7 separate regions of the Homo sapiens genome follow, and all the other regions are linked to region 5. The links are contacts of gene promoters, found by promoter capture Hi-C in blood cells and fetal thymus (Javierre and others, 2016). All regions are on one chromosome and are shown on one strand. Each heading gives the region's core, a stretch centred on a gene start or on the middle of the fragment in contact. The rest is flanking DNA. Distances are from core to core; before and after follow the strand shown.

The links. The method cuts DNA at HindIII sites, captures the fragments that hold promoters and counts their contacts. A CHiCAGO score of 5 or more calls a contact.
Region 1: a fragment that was not itself captured here is called in contact with the fragment with the promoter of KCNQ5 in region 5 in 1 of 17 cell types (M2 macrophages); the score reaches 6.0 in M2 macrophages.
Region 2: a contact is called between a fragment that was not itself captured here and the fragment with the promoter of KCNQ5 in region 5, in 1 of 17 cell types (M0 macrophages). The highest score is 5.9, in M0 macrophages.
Region 3: a fragment that was not itself captured here is called in contact with the fragment with the promoter of KCNQ5 in region 5 in 4 of 17 cell types (M2 macrophages, M1 macrophages, megakaryocytes and 1 more); the score reaches 8.6 in M2 macrophages.
Region 4: a contact is called between a fragment that was not itself captured here and the fragment with the promoter of KCNQ5 in region 5, in 10 of 17 cell types (M2 macrophages, non-activated CD4 T cells, M1 macrophages and 7 more). The highest score is 9.6, in M2 macrophages.
Region 6: a contact is called between a fragment that was not itself captured here and the fragment with the promoter of KCNQ5 in region 5, in 17 of 17 cell types (megakaryocytes, M0 macrophages, M2 macrophages and 14 more). The highest score is 21.9, in megakaryocytes.
Region 7: a contact is called between a fragment that was not itself captured here and the fragment with the promoter of KCNQ5 in region 5, in 1 of 17 cell types (M2 macrophages). The highest score is 5.2, in M2 macrophages.

Annotation. Positions count from the first base shown.
Region 1 is chr6:72,984,201-72,987,636 of GRCh38, forward strand. The region is part of intron 1 of KCNQ5 (potassium voltage-gated channel subfamily Q member 5); the gene reads left to right. All of the region lies in intron 2 of LOC105377855 (a long non-coding RNA gene), which reads right to left. It also overlaps the pseudogene KNOP1P4. Among named protein-coding and RNA genes, the nearest start is that of MIR4282, 18 kb to the left of the region's middle. The HindIII fragment of the contact is 3,310 bases long and covers 1-3,188 here.
Region 2 is chr6:73,052,393-73,055,463 of GRCh38, forward strand. All of the region lies in intron 3 of KCNQ5 (potassium voltage-gated channel subfamily Q member 5), which reads left to right. It also overlaps the pseudogene PGAM1P10. Among named protein-coding and RNA genes, the nearest start is that of MIR4282, 86 kb to the left of the region's middle. The HindIII fragment of the contact is 2,350 bases long and covers 248-2,597 here.
Region 3 is chr6:73,032,798-73,036,218 of GRCh38, forward strand. All of the region lies in intron 2 of KCNQ5 (potassium voltage-gated channel subfamily Q member 5), which reads left to right. Among named protein-coding and RNA genes, the nearest start is that of MIR4282, 67 kb to the left of the region's middle. RefSeq lists an enhancer at 1-601. The HindIII fragment of the contact is 1,396 bases long and covers 1,129-2,524 here.
Region 4 is chr6:73,075,024-73,078,281 of GRCh38, forward strand. KCNQ5 (potassium voltage-gated channel subfamily Q member 5) reads left to right here. Exons shown (of 14, transcript NM_019842.4): 4 at 2,299-2,474; 5 at 2,739-2,864. Among named protein-coding and RNA genes, the nearest start is that of KCNQ5-AS1, 67 kb to the right of the region's middle. RefSeq lists an enhancer at 1,048-1,980. The HindIII fragment of the contact is 5,940 bases long and covers 1-3,258 here.
Region 5 is chr6:72,620,319-72,623,517 of GRCh38, forward strand. KCNQ5 (potassium voltage-gated channel subfamily Q member 5) reads left to right here and starts at 1,746. Exons shown (of 14, transcript NM_019842.4): 1 at 1,746-2,269. The coding sequence starts at 1,872. It overlaps KCNQ5-DT (KCNQ5 divergent transcript), which reads right to left and starts at 2,361. Exons shown (of 3, transcript NR_186827.1): 1 at 2,214-2,361. RefSeq lists enhancers at 131-320, 2,431-3,199 and silencers at 1,741-2,000, 3,031-3,080. The HindIII fragment of the contact is 6,363 bases long and covers 702-3,199 here.
Region 6 is chr6:73,115,257-73,118,771 of GRCh38, forward strand. All of the region lies in intron 7 of KCNQ5 (potassium voltage-gated channel subfamily Q member 5), which reads left to right. Among named protein-coding and RNA genes, the nearest start is that of KCNQ5-AS1, 26 kb to the right of the region's middle. The HindIII fragment of the contact is 4,782 bases long and covers 1-3,515 here.
Region 7 is chr6:73,012,874-73,016,272 of GRCh38, forward strand. The region is part of intron 2 of KCNQ5 (potassium voltage-gated channel subfamily Q member 5); the gene reads left to right. Among named protein-coding and RNA genes, the nearest start is that of MIR4282, 47 kb to the left of the region's middle. The HindIII fragment of the contact is 3,138 bases long and covers 276-3,399 here.

The DNA.
Region 1 (3,436 bases), core at 284-2,783, 360 kb after region 5:
AGATCTCGAACACCATGCTGGGAGAACCACTGCTCTCTTCAGAGCTGTCAGACAGGGACGTTTAAATCTGCAGTGGTTTCTGCTGCCCTTTGTTCAGCTATGCCCTGCCCCCAGAGGTGGAGTCTACAAAGGCAGGCAGGCCTTGTTGAGCTGCGTGGGCTCCACCCAGTTTGAGCTTCCAGGCTGCTTTGTTTACCTACTCAAGCCTCAGCAATGGTGGATGCCCCTCCCGCAGCCAGGCTGCCGCCTCACAGTTTGATCTTGGACTGCTGTGCTAGCAGTGAGCAAGGCTCCATAGGCGTGAGACCCATCGAGCCAGACATGGGATATACTCTCCTGGTTTGCTGTTTGCTAAGACCATTGGAAAAGCCTAGTATTGGGGTGGCAGTGTCCCGATTTTCCAGGTACAGTCTGTCACGGCTTCCCTTGGCTAGGAAACGGAAATCCCCCCACCCCTTGTGCTTCCTGGGTGAGGCAATACCCCGCCCTGCTTCAGCTCACCCTCCATGGGCTGCACCCACTGTCCAACTGGTCCCAGTGAGATGAACCAGGTACCTCAGTTGGAAATGCAGAAATCACCCGTCTTCTGTGTCGATCACACTGGGAGCTGCAGACCAGAGCTGTTGCTATTCGGCCATTTTGGAACCAATCCCAACAATTTTTTTTAATAACAGTAAAAACAAGAAATTCGAAGCCCTGGAGAGGGCCTATAAGAAAAGCAAGAAGTCAGGCACAGTGGCTCACACCTGTAACCCCAGCACTTTGTGAGGGCAATGCAGGAAGATCACATGAAATCAGTAGTTAGACCAGCCTGGGCAACAAAGTGAGACTGTCACTACAAAAATTTTTGTCTAAATTAACCTGGCATAGTGGCATGTGCTGGTAGTCCTAGATACTTGGGAGGCTGAAGCAGGAGGATTGCGTGAGCCCAGATGTTCAAGGCTGCAGTGAGCTATGATCTGGCCACTGTACACCAGTGTGGGCGACAGCGCAATATGTTGTGACACATGCACCAAAAAAAAGAGAAGCAAGAAAGAACGTAGGAAGAAATCAATCTTGTTCACCCAGAAATTCTCCAAAGAACTCAGATTTTTTACTCTGTGTTTTTAAATATTGAGAAAATGGAAGGCATGTAACTAACAGCATATTTTTAACAGTTTAAAAAACCACAGTCATCAAGAGTAATTTCAGATGAGCTGAAAACCAGATAAACCACAACATTCCCCTGTCCCCAAAAAGGACTTTTTTAAATTACAGGAATAGAAAAGAAATAATCCTACTTGTTGGTGGTCAGTATTGTTACAGTAACACCAAGAGATCAGAGCTATGAAAATCCTAACCTCTTCCTAATTTTCCATCAAAAAGCCTGATTTTCCACCACAGAATGCAAATGAAAACCACAATGATATTTCATCTCACACTAGTCAGAATGGCTAGTATTGAAAAGTCAAAAACAACAGATGCTGGTGAGGCTGTGGAGAAAACGGACAACTTATATCCTGTTAGTGGGAAGGTAAATTAGTTCAACTACTTTGGAAAGCAGTTTAGAGATTTCTTAAAGAACTTAAAGCAGAAAACTACCATTTGACCCAGCAATACCATTACTGGCTATATACCCAAAGGAAAATAGATCATTACACCAAAAAGACATATGTACTCCTGTGTTCATTGCTGCACTATTCACAACAGCAAAAATATGGAGTCAACTAGCTGCCCATCAATGGTGGATCGGATAAAGAAAATGTGGAGGCTAGGTATGGTGGCTCATGCCTGTAATCCCAGCACTTTGGGAGGCCAAGGCAGGTGAATCATGAGGTCAGGAGTTCGAGACCAGCCTGGCCAACATGGTGAAAGCCCGTCTCTACTAAAAATACAAAAAATTAGCCGGGCCTTGTGGTGGGCACCTGTAATCCTAGCTACTCGGGAGGCTGAGACAGGAGAATCGCTTGAACCCAGCAGGCAGAAGTTGCAGTGAGCCGAGATCGCACCATTGCACTCCAGCCTGGGTGACAGTGTGAGACTCCATCTCAAAAGAAAGAAAGAAAATGTGGAACATATACACCACGGAATACTACACAGTCATAAAAAAGAATGAAATTGGGGTCACAGTGGAGCAGGCTCTCATGTGGAGGTGGGGAAGTTTGGTCCATCAGAATGATCACCAAGAAACACAAAGCAGACCTGGGCCCTGGGCTCCCAGAGAAGAAAAAGAAGAAGAAAGTGGTCAAAGAACCAGAGACTCAATACTCAATTTTAAACAATGATGATTACTTTGCCAATGTTTCTCCTATAAGAGCCACATCCCCCTCTAAGAGTGTGGTCCATGGGAAGGCACCTGAGATGCCTCTAGTGAAGAAAACAAGTAAAAGAAGGGTGTCAGCACCCTTTGTGAGGAGCACGTAGAACCTGACACCACGCTGCGTGCCAGACGGTCAGAGAAGTCACCCAATCCCAGGAAGCAGGTGCTTGGCCATTTGGAGTTCCTCTGTGGGGAGAAGAAAAAGAAGAAGTCACCTCCAGCCATGTCCCATGCCTCTGGGGTGAAAACCTCCCCAGACCCCAGACAGGGTGAAGAGGAAACCAGAGTTGGCAAGAAGCTCAAATAACACAAGAAGGAAACAAAGGGGGCCCAGGACCCCACAGCCCTCTCAGTCCAGAACCCTTGGTTCTGCGAGGCTGGGGATGCTGCGGACACTTGCTCAGTGGGGAAGAAGGGTGAGGAACAGGCAGCCTTGGGGCAGATAACGGAAGCAGAAGAGCCCCAGGGAGCACAGTGGGAAGGTGAAGAAGAAGAAAACAAAAATCCACCAGGAGGGAGATGCCCTCCCAGGCCACTCCAAGCCCTTCAGGTCCATGGAGAGCAGCCCTAGGAAAGGAAGTAAAACGAAGCCAAAGTTGAGGCTCCGGAATACATCCATCCCCAAAGGAGATGGCCCTAAGGCCCCCGAGAAGAAAAAGATGAAGTCCAAGAAGGTAGAGCAGCCAATCATTGAGGAGCCGGCTCTGAAAAGGAAGAAAAAGAACAAGAGGAAAGAGAGTGGGGCAGCAAGAGACCCTTGGAAGGAGGAAACAGAGACGGACTTAGAGGTGGTGTTGGAAAAGAAAGGCAACATGGACGAGGCGCACATAGACCAGGTGAGGCGAAAGGCCTTGCAAGGAGAGATCGATCGAGAGTCAGGCAAAACGGAAGCTTGTGAAACCAGGAAGTGGACGGGAACCTAGTTTGGCCAGTGGGATACTGCTGGTTTTGACAACGAGGAACAGAAACTGAAGTTTCTCAAACTTACTGGTGGCTTCAAAAACCTGTCCCCTTCGTTCAGCCGCCACCCCCTCCAAGCCCCGCAGCACGATTGCAAGGTCCAACATAGCCCTCAGCAAGAAGGCGGCCGACAGCCTGCAGCAGAACCTGCAGCAGAACCTGCAGCAGGACTGTGAC
Region 2 (3,071 bases), core at 173-2,672, 430 kb after region 5:
TTGTGAGATACTATACAGATAACCATCCCCAAGACACATACTTGTCAGATTCTCTAAGGTCAAAACAAAACAAAAAATGTTAACAGCAGCTAAAGAGAAGGGGCAGGCCACCTCCCAAGGAAACCCCATCAGGCTAACAGCACACCTTTCAGCAGAAACTCTATAAGCCAGCAGAGATTGAGGACCTATATTCAGCATTATTAAAGAAAAGAAATTCCAAACAAGAATTTCATATCCAGCCAAACTAAGCTTCATAAATGAAGGAGAAATAAGATTCTTTTCAGGCGAGCAAATGCTAAGGGAATTCATTACCATCAGACCTGCCTTATAAGAGGTCCTAAAGAGAGTGTTAAATATGGAAAGGAAAGATTATTACTGGCAACTACAAAAACGTGCTTAAGTACACACACCATTGATGCCAAAAAGCAACCACACAAACAGATCTGCATAATAACCAATTAACAACACAAAACAGGATTTGATCCTTCAAATCCACACATATCAATATTAACCTTAAATGTAAATGGGCTAAATGCCCAATTAAAAGGCACAGAGTGGCAAGTTGGACAAAGAAGCAAGACCCAACAGTATGCTGTCTTGAATAGACCCATTTCACATGCAGTGACACACATAGGATCAAACTAAAGGGATGGAGAAAAATCTACCAAGCAAATGGAAAACAGAAAAAAGCAGGAGTTGCTATTCTACATTCAAACAAAACAGACTTTAAACCAACAAAAATCAAAAAAGATAAAGAAAGGCATTACATAATGGTAAAGGGTTCACCTCAAAAGGCCAGACTTAACTATCCTAAATAGATATGCATCCAAAACAGGAGCACCCAAATTCATAGAGCAAGTTTTTAGACACCCACAAAGAGATTTAGATAACCACACAATAATAGTGGGAGACTTTAACATCCCACTGGCAGTATTAGACAGGTCATTGAGGCAGAAAACTAACAAAGAAATTCAGGACCTGAATTTGACACTTGACTAAATAGACCTAATAGACATCTACAGAAATCTCCACCCAAAAACAGGAGTGTATATATTCTTCTCATCTGCACATGGCCCATAATCTAAAATTGACTAATCAGCCATAAAACAATCCTTAGCAAATAAAAAAAAATCATACCAACCACACTCTCAGACTACAGTGCAATAAAAATAGAAATTAATGGAAATTAACCTGCTTCTGAATGACTTTTGGGTAAACAATGAAATTAAGGTAGAAATTCAGAAATTATTTGAAACTAATTAGAACAAAGATACTACATACCAGAATCTCTGGGACACAGCTAAAGCAATATTAAGAGGGAAGTTTATAGAGCTGAATGCCTACATCAAAAAGTTAGAAAGATCTTAAGTTAACAACCGAACATCACACCTAGAGGAAATAGAGAAACAAGAGCAGATCGACCCCAAAGCTAGTAGAACACAAGAAATCAAAATCTGCACTAAACTGAAGGAAATTGAGACGCAAAAAAACATACAGAAGATCAATGAATCCAGGACTTGGTTCTTCGAAAGAATAAATAAGATAGATAAAATGCTAGCTAGACTAATAAGGAAAAAAAGAGAGATCAAAATAAACACAATCAGAAATGACAAAGGGATGTTACCACCTACCCCACAAAAATTTAAAAAACCCTCAGAGACTACTAAAAACACCTCTATGCACACAAACTAGAAAACCTAGAAGAAATGGATAAATTCCTTGAAACATACAACCTTCCAAGATTGAACCAGGAAGAAATTGAATCCTGGACAGAGACCAATAATGAGTTCCAAAATTGAATCAGTAATAAAAAGCCTACCAACCAGAAAAAGCCCGGGACCAGAGGGATTCACAGCTGAATATTACAAGAAGTATAAAGAAGAGCTGGTACCATTCCTACTGAAACTATTCCAAAAAACAGAGGAGGAGGGACTCCTCCCTAACTATGAAACCAGCATCATCCTGATACCAAAACCTGGCAGGGACACAACAACAACAAAAAACAAAACTTCAGGCCAAATCCTTGATGAACATAGATGCAAAAATTCTCAATAAAATCCTAGTGAAATGAATCCAGCAGCACATGAAAAAGCTAATCCACCACTATCAAGGAGGCTTCGTCCCTGGGACACAAGTTTGGTTCAACATATACAAATGAATAAATGTGATTCATCACATAAACAGAATTAAAAACAAAAACCACATGATCATCTCAATAAATGCAGAAAAGGCTTTTGATAAAGTTCAACATCCCTTCACGTTAAAAACCCTCAACAAACTAGGCACTGAAGGAACATACTTCAAAATAATAAGAGCCATCTATAAGAAACTCACAGCCAACATCACAGTGAATGAGCAAAAGCTGGAAGCATTCTTATTAAACACCAGAACAAAACAAGGATGTCCTCTCTCACCAGTCCTTTTCAACATAGTACTGGAAGTCCTGGCCAGAGCAATCAGGCAAGAGAAAGATATAAAAGCCATCTGAATAGAGGGGAAGTCAAACTGTCCCTGATTCCAGTCAGTATGATTCTATGCCCAGAAAACCCCATAATCTCTGCTCCAAAGCTCCTTGGTTTGATAAACAACTTCAGCAAAGCTTCAGGATACAAAGTCAATGTACAAAAATCAGTAGAATCCCTGTGCACCAACAACATCCAAGCTGAGAGCCAAATCAAGAATGCTATCCCCCAAGCCTGCCACCATGGCCACCTACAAACTGGTGCAGATCCAGCACAGCGAGAGTGAGTGGAACCTGGAGAACCACTTCAGCGGCTGGTACGACGCCATCCTGAGCCCAGCGGGCCATGAGGCGGCAAAGCAGGCACGGCGAGATGCTGGCTATGAGTTTGACATCTGCTTCACCTCATTGCAGAAGAGAGCGATCCCGACCTTCTGGACAGTGCTAGATGCCATTGATCAGATGTAGCTGCCAATAGTGAGGACTTGGCGCCTCAATGAGCAGCACTATGGGGCTCTAGCCGGTCTCAATAAAGCAGAAACTGCTGCAAAACATAGTGAAGCCCAGGTGAAGATCTGCAGGTGCTCCTATGATGTCCCACCACCTCCGA
Region 3 (3,421 bases), core at 577-3,076, 410 kb after region 5:
AGGTATAAATAGGTTTAGGATGGGGGAGGATGGACAACAAAAAAAACCTCAGTAAGGCTCCTCCACAAAGGGCACCACTTCAGCTTGGTCCCATGGGCAGACTTCACCTGTGGCAGGTGAAGGGGAAAGCCTAAGACATCCTGTGCCCTGATGCAGATGTGACTTACAGAACATAAAACGTAAAGGCAGAAGGGATCATCTGGGTGGCTGCTCATACTAGGCAGGCATTATAGCTGCTGACAAGAGCCAACCCATCCCTAAGGATCTAAAATCACTACAAGAGAGGACGGAAGTCCTCTCATCATGGCATCCCAACTAGTAACTGGGATGCATAGGGCCACTCCAGGTAGGCAGCGAGGGGTAAACCAGGAATGTCCTGCTGTTCCCACCTCTTTTCCCCAAGCAGGGGGCACCCACTTCCTGCCTCCAGCCCATATGGTCTCAATTTATGGCCTCAATACCTGATAAAAAACCAGCCGTGATCCTTCCTTAGTAACAAAGTGTCAATCAGTCATTTGGAATGGGGCATTTTCAAACTATTGCCTCCCTATGATCTTCTGAAGAACCTCTGGGATAAATGAACATTGTTATTTAGGTATGGTTAAATGAATTACTTTTCAGGAGCAGATTTATATATTAACAGGTGTGAAAAACTTGAATGGATAAATCATTTATAAAGAAATTTCAGGAATCAACTAATCCCAAGGGGAAAGACCCACTAAGACACTAGATTTTGCTGGAGCTACTCAAACAAATTCATCTATCATATCTACCTAAGCCTTCCAATCAATGAGACTAGCCGCAGTGACACTGTCTGTCAAAACTACCTCAGTCATTTTTTTCCAAGGCAGGAAGCATCCATACCCCTTCACACCTTAATCTAATTTCCCCTATCTCCACCCCACTCCCACTTCTATGACCCCCTTCCCCCCATACCCACCCCCGAAGCATCTACTAGCCAACTTAGTGAAGTTCTGTCACGCTCTCACAACCACCTCTGTGCAGCAATGATTCTGTAAATATCCATGTGTCCTCAACACCAGGTCAAATTAGTCCCTTTGGTAAAAACATTCATTCCCTCAAATTCTCTTCCAATACACTAATATACCTTCCCAAAAAGTAAGGAGAAGCTTGAAAGCTAGCTGGATTGATGATGGTATGTGATGTTCTATAAGTTATAGTTAGTAAGCATGTTTTTAGGATATTTTTCTGCTCTCCAAAGAGACACAATTCCGGAAGATATTTACTTTTGTGTATTTCCACATTTTGGTTTAAGTTTGGAGCCATCTCTAGATCTTAATTTCATTCCCCTAATATGTGTTATACTAGTAGAATTTTCCAAATTACATAGAATTATAACTGCAACTCTTCTGACTGATGCCTTTTTTTTGCATTTTATGATGCAGTTTACATCACAAATTCTTTCCCTGCAGGGATTATGTAAAGAGGCATGTTGACCTGCTAGCCCTATGTTACTTTAAGTATATGCACACACACAAAAAGGAACAAAAACAGCTGGGAATTGATTATGTTGATATTCTGAATAAAAGCAATAGTTCTAATTATGTATGTCTAATTAGCCACAGCTCTTCAAGAATTGCTGCAAATGTCACAGGGTTTATAATGTCGGCATTTCATCTTCACGAAAATGCTATTTGATGGCATAAAACCAGAAAAAACTAATGGTCACAGAAGACAGCTTGTAGATTAGACAAAGGTCACTGTGTTTTAATGAACAGTGCTGTTAATTAATGAGAAAACAACTGGTACATGAGCTTTTAAGCATTGTGAATTTGTACCCAAAAAATCAATCTGCCTAAAACAATTTTAAGTAGCTAAAAAACAAAATAACGGCAAGAACATAATTTAAACCTCAAATGGTACAGCAGAGTTATATGTATCAATTAAATTGAATCACAGTTCTCAGGTGTGACATATGAAGAGGCTTCTTTAATGCCTGGAAAAGAGGGTTAATATGGATTGGTATTCTCAATACATATTGTAGATAAAATTCAAGACTAGCTCTACCACTGCCTCTTTTCTTTTTTTTTTTTTTTTTTTTTTTTGAGACAGTATCTCGCTCTGTTGCCCAAGCTGGAGTGCAGTGGCATGATCTCGGCTCACTGCAAGCTCCGCCTCCCGGGTTCACGCCATTCTCCTGCCTCAGCCTCCTGAGTAGCTGGGACTACAGGCGCCCGCCACCACACCCAGCTAATTTTTTGTATTTTTAGTAGAGACGGGGTTTCACCTTATTAGCCAGGATGGTCTCGATCTCCTGACCTCGTGACCCACCCGCCTCGGCTTCCGAAAGCGCTGGGATTACAGGTGTGAACCACCGCGCCCGGCCACCACTGCCTCTTAGGCTTCTTAATTTCCTTATCATTTAAGAAGAATAAGAAAATTCTTCTATGTTTTACCAAAATTCTGTGAGGACAAATGAGGAACCATTGTAACTCCTACAAGGTGAGTGATAAAAATAATACACATTTATTGTCTTTGCTTTTGTAAAGAGTTATCCAAGCCAAGCTTCTAGGGGCTTAAATAAGGAAGGACAGGACCATTGTTAATAACATCAAGTTTCCACTACAGCTTTCCTCCAAACAAGTCAAATATTCTGAATATTATTCACTAATCTCTTTAGCTGCCATTTCAGTAAATAGCGAGCATTTTATTTCAACTAAAACCAAGCAAGAGAAAATGAACTGCTTTATCCTGAGGTACAGCAGCAAAGGCACCAGAACTTGTCTCATGGCTTACCCAGCAAGGGTCAGAAGAACCATCCCTAATTTAAATCATCTCGACTGAATGTAACAGATTTTTGTATTTTCAACTCATATGAAAATAAAACAATGAGACCTCATCCAAAGGGTGATTTAGAGAGTACCTCTAAACAAAACACAGTGAAAATAGACCCAGCATCTGGATTTGAAGAACACATTTCCTCTTACGAGTCTATCCCATTGTCTAGATTGCTGGCAATGGCTTTTTTAAATTTAAATTGTTATTGAGATAATTGTAGATTCACATGCAGTTGTAAGATATAGTAGACATACCCTGTGTATACTTTACCCAATTTCCGCAAAATGTAACATTTTGTAAAACTATAGTATAATATCACAACCAGGATAATAATATTGATACAGCTCACAAATCTCATTCAGATTTCTCCAGTTTTACTTGAATACATTTGTGTGTGTGTGTGTGTGTGTGTGTGTGTGTGTGTGTGTGTGTGTATTGGCTCTGTACAGTTTTATCACTTGCAGAGATTAGTATATCTAAAACAACAATCAAGATATTGGACAGTTCCGGCCGGGCACGGTGGCTCACTCCTGTAATCCCAGCACTTTGGGAGGCCGAGGCAGGCAGATCACGAGGTCAGGAGATCAAGACCATCCTGGCTAACACGGTGAAACCACGTCTC
Region 4 (3,258 bases), core at 497-2,996, 450 kb after region 5:
AACATGATGAAAACCAAGAGATGTGTTTGCACATAACTCTTTTTATAAAGTTTTTTTAATTGCAAAGACATAGTCGTTGTTATAAACTTCCAACATACAGAAATTAATAATTTACAAAGTGAAAAGCCCCTTTATGCATATATTCACTTCAGCTCACTCCCTTTAGAAATAATTAATAGTAATAATCAGCGTATAGTCTCACTTTTTTTTTTTTTTTTGAGACGCAGTCTTGCTCTGTCGCTAGGCTGGAGTGCAGTGGCACGATCTTGGCTCACTGCAACCTCCGCCTCCTGGGTTCAAGGGATTCTCATGCCTCAGCCTTCCAAGTAGCTGGGATTACAGGCACGTGCCACCACACCCAGCTAATTTTTGTATTTTTAGTAGAGACAGGGTTTCACCATGTTGGCCAGGATGGTCTCGATCTCCTGACCTCATGATCCGCCCACCTTGGCCTCCCAAAGTGCTGGGATTACAAGTGTGAGCCACTGCGCCCAGCCTAGTCTCAAATTTTTTTCCTAGTCATATACTAATATATATTTCTATTAAAATAAAATCACATTGTACATACTGTTTTGCAACTGGCCTTTATTCACTTAAAATATGTCTTTGGTGTCAGTGTCAACACATTTAGTTCCTTCTTGTTTCCAACAGCTGCCAAGAGTGGTAACTCTCTTTGGCTCTCTGGGTACTTACCCACAAAAGCACATGCATTTAGAGCTGGTGGAAAAAGTCCTTCAGGGCGGACACCGGTGGCTCACACCTGTAATCTCAACTCTTTGGGAGGCCAAGGCTGGCAGATGATGTGAGCTCAGGAGTTCGAGACCAGCCTGGGCAACATAGCAATACCCCATCTCTACAAAAAAATACAAAAATTAGCCAGGCGTGTTGGTGCATGCCTGTAGTCCTAGCTCCTTGGGAGGCTGAGGTGGGACACAGAGGTTGCAGTGAGCAGAGCTCATGCCAGTGCACTCCAGCCTGGGTGATAGAGTGAGACCCTGTCAAAGGATGGAAAGAGGGAAGAAAGGAGAGGAGAGGGGAAGAAGCCCTTTGGCTGAAACTTGCACTGCCAACAACTGACCCCCCCTCTCTCTCAAAGCACTGACCCAAAAAGGGGCACCAGCAGAGAGGCTCAGAAGATCTTCTCAGTCCACACCAGGAGACCAGACCTTTCTCAGTGCAGGGAGAAGGATGAGCTGAATGAGGAATACTCACTTATACAGCAGTTAATCCAGAGGATGACAGAAACATTACAAATGTGACATCCTTGAAATGGAACTCCTCTTTGGAGTGTGGAAGCCCAGTCATGCACAACCCACTTGGAGCAGGAAGGAAATTGTATTTGAGGATGTTAAAGTCAAGCTAACTTTTATTAAAATTGCCACAGGAGGCCATTCATCCCCACTTCACTTATCCCACTTCAAAGCCTACTTCCCATCACTCAGATGTTTACTTATGGAGTGATTAAGTTTTCTTTTATCTTTTCTATGCTTTCATCAGATGCTCTTTTTCTCTTTTTTGCTTAGAAAAGGCAGATTTTTTCAGCCTAATGTCAATATGTCAAACATTAAGTATTCATTCCCTTGCAATGCACAGTGTTTATACTTACATACCCTATTATAACAAATGTAATATTATTTAATTATGCAGCAAACTTACACATAATTGGTGAACAGGTCTAAAGAATACTCTATACAGGAAGCATAGAGTATTCAGCTTAGCTGAGGCCTTTGTTAAACAATATGCAAAGTTGCAGGTGCCACATTAGGGAATTTTGGGGGAAAGGAAATGCAAACTTATTTGGCAGGAAAACAAGAGAAATGATTATATCTCACAGCACTTTCAAGCTGGACACATTTACATGCCTCTGTCACATCACCCAGAAGCTGTGGTGTTGAGGGCTGAGGCAGGAGATCCTTTTGCCACAGGAAAAAGGATGAAACGAGAGACATTGTGAAAGGTTGCCCCAAAGTCTTAAGGCTCCCTGAAACCTTGGGTTTTTTGAACACCATTGTCCAATCTGTTGAAGGTTAAATAATACGTTGTTCAAAATTGCATAGGTAAAGCGCAGAATGGCCAAAGGGTCAGAACTACAGCAATAGGTAGGTCCCATTCTCTGCCTTTTCATTCTTCAGTCTTCGGAAATGCCACAGAGGCCAAGTGGCACTAGGTGCAGCTGGGAATCAAGATCTGTTTATCTGTACCTTAAATAGGTCAAAGTGAACCTTTTGGAAATATTGTTTTGGTAAATAAAAATTCCTGGTCGTGCTAACTGTGGCTATTTCGACCTGTTTCTTTCAGATACCATTGTTCTTATCGCTTCAATAGCAGTTGTTTCTGCAAAAACTCAGGGTAATATTTTTGCCACGTCTGCACTCAGAAGTCTCCGTTTCCTACAGATCCTCCGCATGGTGCGCATGGACCGAAGGGGAGGCACTTGGAAATTACTGGGTTCAGTGGTTTATGCTCACAGCAAGGTAAGATTTGCTCTCTGAATTTAAAAACACAATTTTTGAAACTTTTTCATTGATCGCTGTAATAGTTAATAAACCTGTCACAAGAAAACTTAGTCATTGCAGAAAATGGTTAAAACAATTTTGGGACATGATGTACAATGGATTATTTAAGAGCCATCATAAACATCCAAGAAGTAGTAAAGTGAATAGAATCCTCATAGAATTCTTTTTTCCTTTTTCAAAGATTTCCCACCTCTAAAAATCTTTCATTCCTTTTATATCTAGGAATTAATCACAGCTTGGTACATAGGATTTTTGGTTCTTATTTTTTCGTCTTTCCTTGTCTATCTGGTGGAAAAGGATGCCAATAAAGAGTTTTCTACATATGCAGATGCTCTCTGGTGGGGCACAGTAAGTATAAAAATACATTTTTTATTTATTGGATGTTGTGAATTGTTTTTTTTTAATACAACGTAATGGTTCCTATGGATGGTTTCAATAAAAATATTAAATTGCGAAAGAGAGTTATATGGAAAATAAATACTACTTATTATTGTCTAAAGGCTTTCCACATCTTTTTAGGCCAACTAAGTTGTCTTGTAAACCATCATTAATATTTCTTGAGTGCTAGATTGTTGCCAAAATTAAAAATATATAAAATATATAAATATATATCATTTTTAAAATGGTGATTAAAACATTGATAGTTTGTTTATTTGTTTTAACTTTGTGGAGCACAAATTTAAATGATCAATTGTTGCATTGATTTTCCGCTCTTCAAAAGTTTATCTGGGGTTAAAAAATG
Region 5 (3,199 bases), core at 496-2,995:
TATTAGGGGAAAGCTAGAGAGTGACTCTGGGTGATGGTGCTCGGCTCACAGTCACATGGCGTCGCCGCCAGCTGCACAGAGCTCCCAGCTAGCTTCTGCTGCCCAGAGGCTTGGGGGGAAGGAGGGAGGGAAGCAGGCTCCTGCTGGTGACCAGGAGCAGGCGAGAGGGCTTCACACAAATAATAGTGATAATAAAGAGTAAAAGCAAAGCATTTAAATCGAGCTATTGCAGAAGACAGAAATCAGCTGCCGCGGGCGTGGGTGTGTGTACAGGGTGGGGGAGAATTGGGAAAGTATTTATCTCGGAGGGGCGGAGACAGCTGCAAGAAGACTTTTGTCTTAGCATTGTTTTAGCCTTAGGAAAGGAAAAGGCCCGAAGGAATCCACCTTGCAACTATCTGCTATGTCTTTGTGGTGGAAGCTTAGTTTTGCCTTCAATTTAATTTGATGATTTTCTTTCATATTTGGGGAAGAGCCACTCTGTTGGAAGAAGTCCCCGAGCCTGGCACCCTTCAGTTTTCCCTATGCTGAATGTGAGATTTAAACTGCCTTTTCTTTGTAATACACTGTTTCTGAAGGCCAGAGGCTGCGGCCAGTGGCACCGTGGCCTCTCTCTCCGCCAAGGGCGCATAGGCTTTGGGCCACCCGGGTGCCAGGGGTGGTGGAAGACCCAGTCAGTTGTTCCTTGCAACAGGTCTCTAAGCTTGTATGTTACAACATAAGGTGGGTGGGGTCGGAACCCCGAAAAGCCGGCGTCCTGGACACCCCATCCTCCAGGTGTTCTTTCCCAGACACTGGGTCCTCGCCGCCGCTGCTGAACTTCTCAATCATATGACTTTCTCGGACTTAAATGGAAATTTCTTGACGGAGGGAACTGGGTTTGTTCTCCCAGGCTTCGCGCTGCAGTCAGGCAGAGCCCCGGGGCAGCTCGCTCACCGCGGAGGAGCCACTTTGGAGTTTTACGCCCTTTCCACACCCCACCCATGGACTGGAAAGGATGTTCAGTTACTCGCGAGCTTGTCTGATACTGGGATGGAAAGTCACAGTCCGCAGGCTGGAGTGAGGCGCGGGAAGATGCCTGGTCCTTGCCTCGCGGACTTGGCAGCCGCGTCCTGCGGGTCTGTCCACTGAACTGCTGAGGACTCGCCCGTGTGCGGGGACCCGAGTGCCACTTCCCGGAGCGTTACCTTGCGCTCCAGCCTCCAGGCTAGATAATACCTGGAAGGCAGGGCAGGGCTGTTCCCGCTCTCACCCCTTGCGGAAGGATGGCAGGATCCGGCGCAGCGACGTAGCAGCGGGAGGGCACAGCGACCTGCATCTCCAGTTTCTCCTCAGGACACAAGGCTGACTTCACCTTCCGGACAGCTGCAAAGCCCCTGCCAGAACCAAACCGAACTCGCGCCTCGGAGAGGGGCTTCTGGGGCCGTTTCGCTGCAGGGCGTGGGGAGTGGAGAGAGGGAAGGGGAAGCCTGGGGCTGGGTGTGCGCGCGTGGGAGCGCGCCTCGGAGCGCCCCGCACTCCCCCACTCTATCCCCGGGGGCAGTTTGGGAAGGAGGGAGTGGTAGTCGCGGGAATGAGGGAGCAAGAGAAACCCTCTCAAAGTGACGCCCCAAACAGGTCCGGATTTAGAATTCGAAGCTAAAGGCTGTTAGAAATTGGGACTCCTCGGCCTCCTCTGCAGCCCCTCCTTTCCCGCCCCGAAGCCCGGGCGGTTTGCTGGCTGCCTGCTTCCCCGCCCCCGGCTCAGAGGTCTCTGGCTGGCGGGCGCCCCGTCGGCCGCCGGCTTCCTCCTTGAAACCCGCCGGCGCACATGAGGCCGCTGCCCCCGCCGCAGGCGCTGGCGGCCCCCTCGCGGTGCCCGTGGTGATGCCATGCCCCGCCACCACGCGGGAGGAGAGGAGGGCGGCGCCGCCGGGCTCTGGGTGAAGAGCGGCGCAGCGGCGGCGGCGGCGGGCGGGGGGCGCTTGGGCAGCGGCATGAAGGATGTGGAGTCCGGCCGGGGCAGGGTGCTGCTGAACTCGGCAGCCGCCAGGGGCGACGGCCTGCTACTGCTGGGCACCCGCGCGGCCACGCTCGGTGGCGGCGGCGGTGGCCTGAGGGAGAGCCGCCGGGGCAAGCAGGGGGCCCGGATGAGCCTGCTGGGGAAGCCGCTCTCTTACACGAGTAGCCAGAGCTGCCGGCGCAACGTCAAGTACCGGCGGGTGCAGAACTACCTGTACAACGTGCTGGAGAGACCCCGCGGCTGGGCGTTCATCTACCACGCTTTCGTGTGAGTACCCGCGCCCCCTGCTATGCCCGCTGCAGGGGACCACTGTCCCTGGCCCCCTGGGGCGTGCTCCGCGCTCGCGCCCTTGGGCCCCCGCGCGCGTGCACACGTGGTGGCTTTTATTTCTTCGCACGTGTTCGTGGTCTTCCTTCTGGAGCCTCTCCCCTCCCCCAGCCCCACTTCTCTCATCTCTACAGCTTGAACCTTTTCCCCGAGGACACCCAATGAACTGCCCGGTAGCTTCAGGCTCCCGGGGCGAGAGCCAGGCAGACGCGGGACTTAGGCTGCGCGGATAATTGGGAGCAATTAGGTCCCAAGATACGTAAACTTCAACCGAACGGGGCGCCCGGGAGCTAGGGAATGCAAAGGGAGGACAGGCGCCCGTGTGAGGCTTGAGAGTATACTGGAGAGGTTAGGAGGTGATGGCGGGGTAGGACGGGGAGAAGTGAGGGGGCATCGAGGGCTAGGTCCTCAGTCCTAGGGGCGGAGTAGGGGAAGCTGCTACTTGGAGAGAGCTGCTAGGTTTTAAGCGCGCCCGGAAACACGCCTCGCCACCACCCAGCCACCACCAACGGAAAATCTGTCAGTGCATGTAGCCCTTCCTGCCACGGAGAAGGTGGCCAAGGTCTAGAGGAGGCCAGCAGGCCAGGCGAAGCAACGCTCCCGCGCTGCAGGGGGCGGGGAGGCAGCGGGGAACCTGGGGCGCAGGAACGCGGGCGGAGGTGCGATAGCAGAAGCGCAAATGGGTCGCCTCTGACAGAGATCGGGCAGTGGGTTAAGTCCCCGTTTGTGGCGCGGAGTCAAAGAGTGTGTGTGTGTGTGTGTGTGTGTGTGTGTGTGTGTAGTAAGCCTTCTCCATCTAGCAGAGAATGCTTAATGAGAAAATGATTGGAAGCAAATGTTTATTTTTCCCTTAGGCATTTAAAACCTTTC
Region 6 (3,515 bases), core at 333-2,832, 490 kb after region 5:
AGATTGAAAATAAAGCAAAAAAGATAAGAAACATGAAGTGTCCATCCAGGCATTCCAATATCCAGCTAATAAAGATGTCTCAGCTCAAGTGCAGGGAAACTAAGAGGAAGATTTTATCAAAGAAATACAACATTATGATTCTCCAGAACAGGAGGACAGGAGTGGCCACAGTAGAAGAGCTCACCAAGTGTCCAGCACTGTGAACCAAAAACTTCACACCAAGATTATCACAGTAAAATATCAGAAAACTTACCAAAAGGGGATCCTAAATGCTTTCTGAGCAGGACAGAGCCAAAGGAACAAGAATAAGGATGACATAGGATTTCTCATTAGTAATCCAAAAATTAGAAGACAATGAAACAATACTTTCGAAATTATAGAAATTATTTTCAACCTAGAACTCTATATCCAGCCAAACCACCATCAAGTGTGAGAGCAGCACCAAGGCACTTTTAGGCATGCAAGATCTCAAAAATTAATCTACCATTTACCTTTACTCAAGAAACTTTGTAAATAGAACTTCTCTTCCACAACAAGGGGATAAGCCAAGAGAGAAAGAGACATGGAGTCAAGAAAACAAGAGATTCCGCACAGGAAAGAGCAAAGGGGATTTCTATGATAATAGGGAAGGGAAGTCCCAAGACAACAGCTATGCAGGCCTTGAGAACAGAATGAGAAGGAGGCTGAGAGCTCCAGGAGAAAGATCTTCAAGGAAGCGAAAGAATGGAGTTCTCAGATTTCATGATGCATTTGACCAGAGGAATTTTATAGTTCTGTTGGAAAGATCTGGAATGTAATCATAACAGGTACATATATGCAAATCAAGAAATTAAAATAGGGCAATTATAACTCCAAAAAAACCAAAAACTTGTATAAGAAAGAAAGAGCAGCCATAGTACATCACATTGCTGAACTGGGAACAGCAGTTACATTGTCATAATAATATTAAATAGTAACTTAGCTAAGAATTGTGATATTAAAATGTTGATAGGATGAAAGGAGGGGAAGAGGGCATGTAAGTGGGCAATATCATTATCGTTCAGGATAGGAAGTTAATTGATAATGTCTAAAATTGAAAAATCAAGAAATATAACTATAAGCATAATCCTTAAAAATAAGCATTCTTGGCTGGACGCAAGTGGCTCATGCCTGCAACCCCCGCACTTTGAGAGGCTAAGGTGGGAGGATCACTTGAGGCCAGGAGTTCAAGACCAACCTGTGCAACATAGCGAGACCCCACCTCTACAAAAAAATTTTAAAAAGTCAAGTGCAATGGCACACACCTGTAGTCCTCACACACCTGTAGCTACTCAGGAGGCTGAAGCCAGAGGATTGGTTGAGCCTGGGAGTTTGAAGCTGCTGTGAGCTATAATTGTACCACTGCACTCCAGCCTGGGTGATAGAGTATGACCCTGTCTCAAAAATAATAATAATAATAAATAAGGATTCTTAAAAATAGAAGCAACAACTATAAGAATTGAAGGGGTTGCCTCTGAGGAACAGAAAGTAGTGTGAAGAAAGATGTGGAAAGGGATTGCTGGTTCATAGCCTAAAACTTTCAGGACTTTCACATTTTAAACTCTGTACCTTGAAAAAATAAGCTCTGTGTTCATTATTCCTTTGGATGGTCAGCTGAAACCTTCTAAACCATTTCCAGTAAGGATCAAACATGCCATAATGGTAATACTTGCAAGACAAACAAAATACTCCCAAAAAAACTGAATTATACTGGCCTTGTACTTATTGAGCAAAGTCCAAATCTCTTTGACTGCCTAGAGCACCAGCATCACCTGATAAATGGCAAAGTTGGCTCTCATTTTGCTTCTTGTTGATTTGTCCTTTGAATTGTATACACCATGTAAATTAACCATAGGAAATCCCTCTAAGTGTTATTTTTCTCTTGCCAACTACTGTGTGATTTTGGCTTTAAATATAGGAACATCAGCTACTGGATCACAGGGATGTGGGTTCAAAGTTCAGCTACTAGAAACAATTTGCTAAGAGAGACCTAAGAACAAAATAAAGTTATTAGAGTGTAACGGGCATAGAGTTCCACTTTCCACCTTCATTTTTACTGTTAACTAATATCAGCCATGTGACAGATGCCACCTGCACCTTCCATACCTCTCATTTAAAAGGCATTTTTGGGAGATGAGTAATGAAGGGAACAAGAGCTTAGCTGTTGGGATCAATTTGAGAGAAAAATAGCAAGACATCAGGTCTCATTGTAAAGAAAATCTTTAATTTTCTCAGAGTGGCCTCTTTTGCCCCCAGTTCTTTATAACATTCACAGGCAATGCCTTGGTCCCATTCTTTTGTTGTTCTGTTGTTTTGGATTTTTTCACTGGTATCTAATAATGTGCAGACCTGCCATATGCTTCTAGTTCTACAGGAGTCTTGCTTTCAATGTATCAAAAATCATATATGTGTGACATCTTCTATGGAAATTGTTTAATTAAGGCAGCCGTCTGTGTCATCACAACATTAGAGGATCTCTGGGCATCACTACTACAGAAGAAGCTGCAATCCTAAATCCATGTGTTTTCCTTAATTATTCTAAATCACTCTATAAATTGTGCAGGTATAATATTTGCAAAGATTAACATTTCAAGATGATGCAACAATAGTTGCATTATATAAGATGTCAAGATACTTAGCACAAATTTCCACAGATTTGTAGATTAAATCAGCATGAGCCATGTAATGAAGGCAAGGAACTTTGGTTCAATCATTTAAACCTTCCTCAAAAATATAAAAAGTCCCTCAGTTTCTACCACTATATTTTTCTAGTTTTTTTATGTCACTTTCTGAAATTTCATTGAAGTACAATGTGCATGCAGAAAAGAGCACATATCTTAGGAGAACTGAGCACACCTGCATAACCAGCACTCAGATAAACAGAGCAGGACCTCCTGTGTACCCCTTCGCAATCACTATCCCATAAGGATAACCACTGTGCTACCTTCTAACAGCGTAGAATAGTTTTCCCTGGTTTTTGTACGTTATGGAAATGTACTCCTTGGTGTCTTCTTTTTCTCACTCAACGTTATTCACATGAAGTTCATCCATGTTGTTGTGTGTAGCTATATGTACTATTGCCATATAGTATTGTACTATGTAAATGGTGTCACAAATTTTCTGTTTATTCTACTGTTTCTGGGTATTTTGGAATTTCCAGCTTTAGTTTATTAGAAACCAACATATAGTACATATCTTTTAATGAACATATATAAGCATATATTTTGAAAATATACCTAGGAGTGTGTAGTTGTATCATAGGATACTTAAATGTTCAGCTTTCATAGAAACTTCCAGTTTTCCCAAGTAGTTGTGTGAATTTTTAACTTTTATTTAGCATACATTTATTCAATGATATTCTCAGGAAAAGGAATATTGTTAGATCACATTTTCTTCATTATGGATTTCACAATCATGACTGATGTGTTATGTACTAGGGATGTGGCCCATTTAAATGAATTGGTCTGCCAGGCATGGTGGCTCATGCCTGTAATCCC
Region 7 (3,399 bases), core at 595-3,094, 390 kb after region 5:
GTGGTTAATGATATAGCCTACTTCATAAGGCTGATGTGAAAATTAGATAAATTCAAGTGCTTAGGACTGGGCCCAACAGAAAGAAAACTCTTGGAAAGATAGCAAATATGATCATCATGGGATCTTCCATGTTTAATGGAGACCTCATAGGGACACAAGTACAGGTGAACTGTGGAACATTTGAAAATGCTACACTTAAGGAAATATTATATTTTATAATAGAAAACAAGTATCTGTGTAAGAGTTTTCTCACCGCAATCACTGTTAATTATGGAAGCTTGCTACATAAACATGTTCTCTAAAAGTGACTCAGTGGTACACATTCGGCATGCAGCATGTGTTCACAATAGCCACTTATTTCTGGTGGCTAATGAAACTGATTTCAATTGTTGAAGCATTTTAGTAAATACGTCTGATGACAGTGCTTGTGGCTTTATATCTCTTCTCTCGATGTCTGCATCTACTGAGTGAAACATTGGGCAGGAATAACTCCAGATCTGATGGACTTGCTTGCTCTGCCATCACCCTGGTGATAAAATTTGTGAACTCAAGAACGTGTATGAAACTGTGTGTCCACATTCCAGGGACAGTTAAAAGCTGGTGTTAATTTCCTATATTTGGTGATTCCATCAAAAATGAAAGGGAGCCAGCATTTTTTAAGTACCCTTCATTTATTAGGCTCATTGATTTCTTACTAGAAAAATAAAACTGGCAATGTAAGTATCCCCTCCCATTTTCACAAATAGCTAAATAAGTTGTGCAAGATAACACACCAAGTGTAAAATAGCCAAGATTCCAGCTTAGGCCTGGCTGAGGAAAAGACTGGGCTGTCTTCAGAGCATCCCGCTGCCTCTCATTCTCTTGCTTCTTTCAAGGCTGACAAGTCTACCAAAATGCATTTGCCAGTACCCAATGAAGTGCTCATGTCTAAGGCTTCTTTTTGTTCCATATATGCCAAATAAGGCTTACAACACTTTTACTTAGGATGCTGTGCTTTCATAAAGAGTTCCACTTACCAAGTTATCACAAATGGGTATATCAATTCAGACCACTAGAAGTTCTTTGTACTGAGAATTCTAAATTCTGTTTTGCAAATATTCAAGAGCCTGATTCATGGGGTAAATAGTCAAGTGTAAAAGTTCATCTTCTAGCCCCAGTTCACTTTGCTCAGGTGAGTATCATGCTGTTGAAGTGAGTTCTCCTATTTCCAGGTTAGACTATTGTGGTAAGTTTTGTTTGGTTTGTTTTGATTTCATTAGCCAAAGGTTGTAGGTTTTAGCATTGTATTTCCCACCTTTTTGAGAACAATACTGTCTGGAGTGCATTTCCTCTCTGTTAAAGAACTTCTTGCCATCCAGATTAATTTTAAAGTATTTATTTTAAGTTTTTAGATGAAAATTGTCCATCATGTTGAGAAAAGAGAACTCCATTTGATGAAAGTGATGCATATTATTTGCAAAATTCTTATTGCAGGTTATCATTTCTAAAAGTGCCCACCCATAAGCAGTAAAAGGAATGCCACTATCAATTTTAGCAAGACAGAGCCTGTCTCAGTATATTTGCTCCTGTACCCTCCTGCTGTGTTAGAAAGACTCCAAACTACAAATGGATCGTGCTCAGCATCTGGATGAGTACTCTATCCAGGCTTTCCCAAACATCCAGATGTTTGACAGCTTCTACATATGCATATTTTCTCCTTATGCTTCAGGTAGCAAAGTAAACATGGGTTTATTGTTTCCCTGCACAGTGACTCTGCTCCTGAATTGTGTACAAACTCAATTTAGGCAGGTCTAATTATATCTTAAATGTACTAGTGGAGCTTACTATTTAAAGAAAATCTATAGGGAATTCTTTTGTAAAGTGAAGCATCCCCTTGGAAAGGTAATAACAGCTACATAATTTGTTACATGTTTGTTTTCTTTTTAATGCGGGCACATGCATTTTTAATTGCTATATAAATATTCACTATATATATATAACATGGTATTGAAGAATTAGAGACATCATTGCCACTTCCTATATACCAGTATTAACGGGGGAGGGAAAAATCAGCCACAAGCACATTTACTGGTCCTTGCAAAGTAGAAAGGTTTGCACATGAAATTGTAAGGGTTTGATACAGAATGAGATGACAGTAGTCTTTACATTTAAAACTTCTGGTATTAAATATTGTAAGAGAGGATAACAGAGTGTAAGGATAAGAATCCATTCGAGGATATTAAATCTTATGTTTGTAAAGGCAGTAACGCAGTATGAGATATGAAGCAATCAGATGTGAGGAATGAGCAATGCTTCTTTAGATTTATCACATCCCTATAATTTACTGCAGAAAGCTCTCAGAATATCCCAATGAACATTGAAAACTGCAGTTATTTTCCTTTGCTTTTCTTTCATCAAGGAAAAATGCAAATAAACTCTAAAATGATTCACAGAGACTAACGACCCTCATCAATCTGCCGATGACTGAAAAGAAAAAAGCAGGAATAGTTAAACACCTACACTGAACCTTAACAGAAGGATAATAACATAGTAAGTTGCCCCATAAAAAGTATTTCAGATATTAGAGGAAAGAATTTTTGAAGCTAAAGATAATGATTGTGCCTGAAAAAGACCATGCCTCTATCTACAATTAAGGAAGGAAAGAATTTTCCATATTTTTATGCAAACATTGATGTCTAACCAAGTGGTCCAGGCTATGCTACCAAACTCTGTACAACTTTGTTTCAAGACTTGACAGGCTACCCAGCAGACATCCTTAGAGCTATAAATGAGCCATATTCAACCAGGTCCACACTGATGTTTAGCTCTTATGCCCTTTTGAGCTTCACAAAAGTATATCTGATGGAGAGAGAAAGAGAAACAAGGTAGTATGATAAATTTTACAGGGTTACTGGAAAATAAGTCAAAATGTTTGTCAGTAGAAGGAAAAACACCCTTCCCTTACTATCTTTCCATGCTGTGATCATTTCCATCATTTGAAACCTGGACCAAATACCTCCTCCTTCCTGAAATAAACTTTCTTTCCTCTAACTTTCCTCAGTCCTGTCTACTTGACATTGTATCTTCTCCATTATTCATTTATTCAACAAGATGTATGCAGTACCCAATAAGGATGAGGCATTCTTTTTTAAGAGCTGAGGAGATAGCAATGAACAAAACAGCCAAAATCTCTGTTCTCATGGAGCTAATGTTTTTGTGGAAGACCTAGAATAAACAAACAGGAAAATCAATATATTAGATATTACAAATAAAAGGAAAGCAAGAAAAAGGAATAGGTAATGAAGGAAAGTTTAGATAGTATGTTTAGAGAAGTCCACTGAAATGGGTGGCAGAGACTTGAATGGAATGAGGCGATGAGGCATGCAAAGATTAGGGAAAAGAAAATGCCAGGCAGATAGA